2 separate regions of the Homo sapiens genome follow, and region 1 is linked to region 2. Evidence: promoter capture Hi-C in 16 types of primary human blood cells and fetal thymus (Javierre and others, 2016). All regions are on one chromosome and are shown on one strand. Each heading gives the region's core, a stretch centred on a gene start or on the middle of the fragment in contact. The rest is flanking DNA. Distances are from core to core; before and after follow the strand shown. Region 1 overlaps OSCP1 (organic solute carrier partner 1). Region 2 holds the start of THRAP3 (thyroid hormone receptor associated protein 3).

Evidence for each region. Contacts are between HindIII fragments. The CHiCAGO score rates a contact against its expected background, and 5 or more counts as called.
Region 1: a fragment that was not itself captured here is called in contact with the fragment with the promoter of THRAP3 in region 2 in 1 of 17 cell types (neutrophils); the score reaches 5.7 in neutrophils.

What each region holds. Positions count from the first base shown.
Region 1 is chr1:36,425,689-36,429,420 of GRCh38, reverse strand. All of the region lies in intron 4 of OSCP1 (organic solute carrier partner 1), which reads left to right. Among named protein-coding and RNA genes, the nearest start is that of SNORA63C, 9.0 kb to the right of the region's middle. The HindIII fragment of the contact is 3,633 bases long and covers 1-3,527 here.
Region 2 is chr1:36,221,800-36,225,919 of GRCh38, reverse strand. It overlaps THRAP3 (thyroid hormone receptor associated protein 3), which reads right to left and starts at 1,477. Exons shown (of 12, transcript NM_005119.4): 1 at 1,415-1,477. RefSeq lists enhancers at 1,031-1,559, 1,391-1,600, 1,560-2,087, 2,001-2,300, 2,511-2,680 and a silencer at 1,731-1,850. The HindIII fragment of the contact is 1,255 bases long and covers 592-1,846 here.

The DNA of each region.
Region 1 (3,732 bases), core at 462-2,961, 200 kb before region 2:
TGGAGCCAGACATGTTTCTCTTTTTTTTTTTTTTTGAGACAGGTTCTCATTTTGTTGCCCAGACTGGAGTATGGTGGCACAATCATGGCTCACTGCAGCCTCAATCTCCTGGGCTCAAGTGACCTTCCACCTCAGCCTCTCGAGTAACTGGGACTACAGGAGCATGCCACCACGCCTGGCTAATTTTTTGTATTTTTTGTAGAGACAGAATCTTGCTTTGTTGCCCAGGTTGGTCTTGAACTCCTGAGCTCAAGCAATCTGCCTGCCTTGGCCTCTCAAAGTGCTGGGATTACAAGTGTGAGCCACTGTGCCCAGCTTCACCTTTCTCTTTGAATCTCAACTCCAGAGCTGGCCACAGTGGCGAGTGCCTGTAGTCTGAACTACTTGGGATATTGAGGCAGGAGGATCACTTCAGCCCAGGAGTTCAAGACCATCCTGGGCAACATAGTGAGACTCTGTCCTTAAAATAAAATGTTTTGTTTTTGAGACAGAGTCTCACTCTGTCTGGAATGCAGTGGCACAATCTCGGCTTACTGCAACCTCCACCTCCCGGGTTCAAGCAATTCTCCTGCCTCAGCCTCCCAAACAGCTGAGATTACAGGCGCCTGCCAACACGCCTGGCTAATTTTTGTATTTTTAGTAGAGATGGGGTTTCACCATGTTAGCCAGGCTGGTCTCAAATTCTTGACCTCAGGCGATCCGCCCGCCTCAGCCTCCCAAAGTGCTGGGATTACAGGCATGAGCCACCATGCCCAGCCAAAATAAAACAATTTTTAATTAAGAAAATGAATCCCAACTATAGGACTAGCTCCATGACCTTGGGCAAAATAACTTCTCTTAAGTCTTAGTTTCTTCATCTGAAAAATGAAAATTATAATACCTAATTTTGTTGGATTAACTGAAACAGCATATGTAACATATATGTATTTGTTTGTGCATATACAGAGAGAGTGCTTCTGGAAGCATATGCAAGAAACTGTTCACAGTGCACAGTGTTGCCTTCCAGGAGTGGGGAACTATATGGAGGACAGGAGAAGGAGACTGACTTTCCATTATGTATACCCTTTTGAGAACTTTGAGTTTTGTACCTGGGCAAAATAAAATTTTAAAAAGGGGAAGAAATGCAATGTATTTAGTGCCTTATTGTATTTCCCTTCCATGGACAAAGGAAGATAAATAGATTTCAATTCTGATGCCAAATTTTTCTTTCTTTTTTTTTTTTTTTTTTTTTGAGATGCAGTCTGGCTCTGTCGCCCAGGCTGGAGTGCAGTGGCACCATCTCAGCTCACTGCAACCTCCACCTCCCTGGTTCAAGCAATTCCCCTGCCTCAGCCTCCCGAGTAGCTGGGATTACAGGTGCACACCGCCACATCCAGCTAATTTTTTTGTATTTTTAGTAGAGACGGGGTTTAACCACGTTGGCCAGACTGGTCTTGAACTCCTGACCTCAGGCAATCCACCCGCCTCGGCCTCCCAAAGTGCTGGAATTATAGGCGCGAGCCACAGCGCCCGGCCTTATTTTTAACTCTCATGAAGAATTGTATTTGCTATGGATGAAGCAATAATAACATCAATATAAATTAAGATCTCTGTCATTGATTAAAATAAAAAATATGAAAGTACAAATAAGATTAAGTTTTTCATTAAATTTAAAATAACAATTTTGAAATATTAAAAATTCTGTATCATATTGTTATCAGGGCTGCATATTTGGGTATTATTTTATGGATTGGTAGTAACATAAACAGCCATATTGATTTCCCAGTTCCGACAAGATAAAATTCATTATAATGAAAAGGCTTTCAGCTGGGTGCAGTGGCTCACGCCTGTAATCCCAGCACTTTGGGAGGCCAAGGCGGGCAGATCACAAGGTCAAGAGATCGAGACCATCCTGGCCAACATGGTGAAACCCCGTCTCTACTAAAAATACAAAAATTAGCTGGGCGTGATAATATTCTGACTGGGAGTGATGGCTCATACCTGTAATCCAAGCACTTTGGGAGGCCAAGGCCGGAGGATTCCTTGAGCCTAGGATTTCAAGGCTGCAGTAAGCTATGATCATGTTCACTGTACTCCAGTCTATGCAACAGAGCAAGACTCTGTGTCAAAAAAAAAAAAAAAGGCCAGGCGCCATGGCTCACGCCTGTAATCCCAACACTTTGGGAGGCCAAGGCAGGTGGATCATGAGGTCAGGAGTTCGAGACCAGCCTGGCCAAGATGGTGAAACCCCATCTCTACTAAAAAATACAAAAATTAGCCAGGCATGGTGGCGGGCGCCTGTAATCCCAGCTACTCGGGAGGCTGAGGCAGGAGAATCGCTTGAACCCAGGAAGCAGAGGTTGCAGTAAGCCGAGATCATGCCACTGTACTCTAGCCTGGGCGACAGAGCAAGACTCCATCTCAAAAAAAAAAAGAGGCCAGGCACCATGGCACACACCTGTAATCCCAGCACTTTGGGAGGCTGAGGCAGGCAGATCACTTGAGGTCAGGAGTTCGAGACCAGCCTGGCCAACATGGTGAAACCCCGTCCCTACTAAGAATACAAAAATTAGCTGGGTGTGGTGGCACATGCCTGTAGTCCCGGCTATTCAGGAGGCTGAGGTAGGAGAATCACTTGAACCCGGGAGGCAGAGGTTGCAGTGAGCCGAGATCGCACCACTGCACTACAGCCTGGGCTACAGAGCAAGATGCTGCCTTAAAAAATTAAAATAAAAAAATACAGCAGGCGAGAAGGAAGGCAGGGAGACCAGACAGGAGGCTTCTGCAGTGGGGCAGGCAGAAAACAGTGAAGGCCTGCATAGGGAGCAATAGTTGGGGTGGAGAGGAAAGGCTTGGCAACTGAAGGGTTGAGGAAGAGACAAAGATGGGCCCTGTTCTGAGCAGGGGGAATTTGAGGTACATCCTAGGGGACCCATAGATGGAAATGTGTGACAGGCAATGGGATGGATGGGTCAGTGCCAGGGAAGGAGCTGGAGTGGGACCTTGAGATCTGGGAGCCATGAGCTCAGAGGTGAGCCCTGGAGTATGGGAGGAGACGAGATCACCTCGGAAAGGAAAGGGTGGAGGGAGAAGAAAAGGCCAGCAGAGGGGCTGAGCAAGCAAACAGACCTAACAGTCCTCTCCAGCCACTGGCAGAGTCTCAGGCCAAACACAGACACACACATGACCTAAATTTGTACATTTCAGATCTACCATGCCATAGTCAACCTCATAAGATTAAACTAACAGAGTTTCTAGCACATATAAATATTCCCAATTCTCCCTCTAAATTTTCTTTCTCCTTTCTTGTACTCACATCCCTTGGTCACAGAATCTTGAGGTTAAAAATGTCTTAAACGTCATCCAGCAAACCCTCTGACCAAACCAGTTTACATGTTCCCCTGAAAACGTGACTCACACCTGCTCATCTCCATCTCTGAAGTGTCTCTACACCTACCTTCTTCCTCCAGGCTCAGCTCCAGACCCACAGTCACGCCTGCCTCCCCCCAGACTCCCGGCATGCCAGCAGTCATTCTCCTCAGCAAGCTTCTATGCACCTGCTATGTAGCATGTCCTGCTTTAAAGTGTTATTTTCTCCATTTTATGCTTGTGTCCTGTGTCCAAATAGACTTGTAATAATAAGAGTATTGGCTACCATTTATTGAGCACATAGTCTATGTGTCAGCCTTTGCTTTTTTTTTTTTTTTTCCAGATAGAGTCTTGCTCTGTTGCCCAGGCTGGAATACAGTGACA
Region 2 (4,120 bases), core at 228-2,727:
TTAATCAAATCACTTCTTACAGAAACCTCAACACAACTCTCTTACAAAATGCAATTAAGCCCAAATGGCTGCAGTAAAACTTATCATTAACGTATGAACATTGGCTCACAAAATACATCTCCCGGCAAAGAACAAACTGAGCCCGATTTGCTCCACAAGTTGTTCATGGCAGGAGCCGGTTTTGGCTATTTAACAAGCTTCTAAATCATAATACACACGTCAGACTGTCTAGAATTACAGAACAGACTACAACAGTACTTCCACAAACGAAAAAAGTCAGGGTCATCTGAAACAGAAGAAAAATAACGGTGTGATACACGCCTCATCTCTCTCGGCGCACACTCTAAAAAAAAAACCTATAAATGATGATATTACTTTTTAACAGTGGCTAAGTGATTTTTATTTTATCTCATTTAGTCTCCACAATAACCCTGTAAAGGGGTCACTGTTACTTACTGCTGTTTTAGTGATAAGAAAACTGAGGCAGCTGGAGATGAAGACTCTTGACCTAAGATCAAAAGATAGCAGGGCCAAGATTTAAACCCAAGCCAACTGGTTCAGGATACTTCTGTTATGCTCCCAACAGAAGCTTCACTGCCTCTCTCTTGCCAGGTCCTTCTATACTCTCAGAGGCTTTCCCTTCACCCCAAGTAACAAATTCCCCATAAACACTGTACTGCCACTGATGGCTTCCAACTTCTGTGCACCATTGCTGCTCCCCAGCTTCTGCTGCCATGCTCCACCCCTAAGATTTGTAAAGTCAAAGACAACAGTTGATAAAAGTTGCTTAGGTGCTAAGAGAAGCAAAATAATTCACCTCATATAAGCAGAACTCACGCCGATTGCCACTGGAATGCAAGCCGGCCTCAGCTCCAGCCCAAGAAAAAAGTGAGAACTCTAATATTCCCGTAGGAGACAAATTTGGACTATCCCGTTTTTGGCCACCAGGCTGGAAAGAACGGAAGCGGTACTAACATTTACTGAGTGGCAGCCACATGCGCCCTAGGAGAAGACCGAACCAGGCCAATGGGGACTGGGTGGGGGGAAGGGCACTCGGGAGTTCCGGGAAAAGAAATCCAAATAACGGGGTTCATACGACCAAAACGGGAGGAGTAGGGAGTGGCCGCCCCCAGGCCGACTGCAAGATAAAGCGGCGTAGGAGCTGCTCTGCAGAGAAGGCGACCAAGAGCCTTGGGAGCTAGGCCGGGGCCAGGGGAAGACCTAAAGGGCGGGGAAGGGGAGGAGCCGGAGGGAACGGAGCCCGCTCAGAAGAGGCCAGGGTGTAAGCTGGGGGGAGCGACTCCACGCCAGGCCTTCCCCGAGCCCCTGACCAGCAGCTGGGGAAAAAAGATAAGAGACGAAACCACTAGAGCCGGTTAAGCTGCCCTAACTTCCATCAGAGGCGCTCACTCACCTGGGCCTACCACAGAGATCGCAGCTGCAGCTCGCAACGGAACAACCAGCCCGAACCTCGCCCCCGCCCCACAGCGCGCCCAGCGTCTCCGCTCTCCGACGACGGCGACGGCGTAGACCCGCTGCCTCCTGGGAAATGTAGTCCTACGCCCTCCTCTCCTGGCCGACTTGGCTGCCATCAGAACTACGTTTCCCAAAAGACAAGGCGAGCGTTGGGCCCGCCGCTTTGCGTCACGCGCTCGGTTGTCGGCGGTCACGTGGGTTGCTCGGGGCCGTCCCCTCCCCCCGCCTGGGTGGCCTGGAGATGGAGGAGGGCGGTGGACGGAAGGGGCGGGGGCGTTGCTGACGCCACTGCCCCCACCATTTTGGAACCAGCCTGGAGGGAGAGTCTGAGCCCCACCCACTCCGGGCCAGCTTGCCTTGTTGAAAAGCTTCCGAGTTGGAAGTCGAGTCTCCCTGTTTTTGGTCTCTGCTGCGCTCCCTTCCGCTTTGTGACCTTGAGCAAATTCATCCCTCCTCTCTAAACTTGTTTCCTCCCCTGTGAAATGAGACTTGTAATTTCTACCCCACAGCGATGTTGCCAGGCTCCGACAAAGTAAGGCACAGGAAAGCCTCAAGCACCCTGAAAGCGCAACGCAAATGGAGGGGTTGGTTTGGTTTCGTTTTTTTAATTTTAATTGTGTGACCTCATTCGGAGACCCAGAAACCGCCTCTCCCCAGCCTGCCTTCTGTAACTATGATTTTCTGACTGTCGTCCTGGGAAGTTTGTTAAAATGGGTGCTACTGGGGTATTGAACCAAAAGTTTACCGGGGAGTGTCTCCCTGCAGTCTACATTTTAAACCGATCTCTCGGGTGATTCTTACCCACCTACAAATTTGAGAATCTCTGCGTTTATCAGTTTTGCACAGGCTGGTTTCCTCCGGAATTTCTGCTCTAGTGTCTCTGAACATTTAAGACCCATCTCATAGGTCATCTGTGATGCTTTCAAAGTTGACTAGCTCCTCCCTATGCCTGTGTTCCCACAGTAAGTTTGCATCTTACTCTGTAAGTATCGGGGCCTTCCCCGACAAGACTGTGAGCTCTTTGAGAGCCGAGATCAGTTTTGATGGATTTCTGCACCTCCAGAGAAAAGTAGACACAGTACACATCAATTAATAAAGAAATCTAATGCTCTTCCTAAGAGAAAAGCTGCAAGGCTCAACTCAAGTAGCAGACCACGCCACATCAGCCCTTGCCCTTAGTGGCTTCGGCAGCATTCCTTGCACACGGCTTACTCTTTCTTCCTTCTTTGAGCACTTCTTGTGGTCGACGTACTGCGCAGTGCTTCTTAAAACGTTCTAATTTAATTGATTTTATTTTTATTTATTTATTTATTTATTTATTGAGATTCTCCCTATGTCGCCCAGGCTGGAGGGCAGTGGTGCGATTTTGGGTCACTGCAACATCTGCCTCCCAGGTTCAAGCGATTCTCCTGCCTAAGCCTCCTGAGTAGCTGATTTTACGGGCATATGCCACCACCCGGCTAATTTTTCTACTTTTTGTGGAGACGGGGTTTCGCCACGTTGGCCAAGCTGGTATCAGACTCCTGACCTCAAGTGATCCACCTGCCTCGGCCTTCCAAAGTGCTGGGATTACAGGCGTGAGCCACGGGGCTGAACCAATGTAATTTTAAATTCAAAGATTTTCTGGGTGTCTACTGTATACAATGCCCAGTGTAAAATACTGGGAACACGGTAGTAAACTAGATGGATACCAAAATACATAATTTTGGCTCCCCTTTTAAGAAATACAGGCATAGGCCGGGCGCGGTGGCTCACGCCGGTAATCCCAACGCTTTGGGAGAACCGAGGCGGGCAGCTCACCTGAGGTCAGGAGTTCGTGATCAGCCCAGCCAACATGGCGAAACCCGTTCTCTACTAAAAATACTACAGATTAGCCGGGCGTGGTGGTGGGCACCTGTAATCCCAGCTACTCAGGAGGCTGAGACAGGAGAATCGCTTGAACCCAGGAGGTGGAGGTTGCAGTGAGCCGAGATCATGCCACTGCACTCCAGCCTGGGCGACAGAGCAAGACTCCGTCTCAAAAAAAAAGAAAAGAAAAAAAGAAATACAGGCATATCTCAAATATTGCAGGTTCAGTTCCAGAACACCACAATAAAGCAAAGATTGCAGTAAGGTTAGTCCAAGTTTCCCAGTGCATATTAAAGTTATATAGTATGTTTACATCATACTGTAGTCTATTGTGTGCACTAGTGTTATGACCTAAAATATATATACTTTAATAAAGAATATTACTTAAAAATGCTGTCAGCCTGGCGTGGTGGCTCACACCTGTAATCCCAACACTGGGAGGCCAAGGCGGGTGGATAACCTGAGGTCAGAAGTTTGAGACCAAGGCCAGGCGCAGTGGCTCACGCCTGTAATCCCTGCACTTGGGGAGGGCGAGGCTGGTGAATCACCTGAGGTCAGGAGTTCAAGACCAGCCTGGCCAACATGATGAAACCCTGGTCTCTACTAAAAATACAAAAAATTAGCTGGGCATGCTGGCGGGCACCTGTAATCCCAGCTATTCAGAAAGCTGAGGCAGGAGAATCGCTTGAACCCAGAAGGCAGAGGTTGCGGTGAGCCGAGATCGTGCCACTGCACTCCAGCCTGAGTAACAAGAGCAAAACTCCGTCTCAAAAAAAAAAAAAAAAAGTTCAAGACC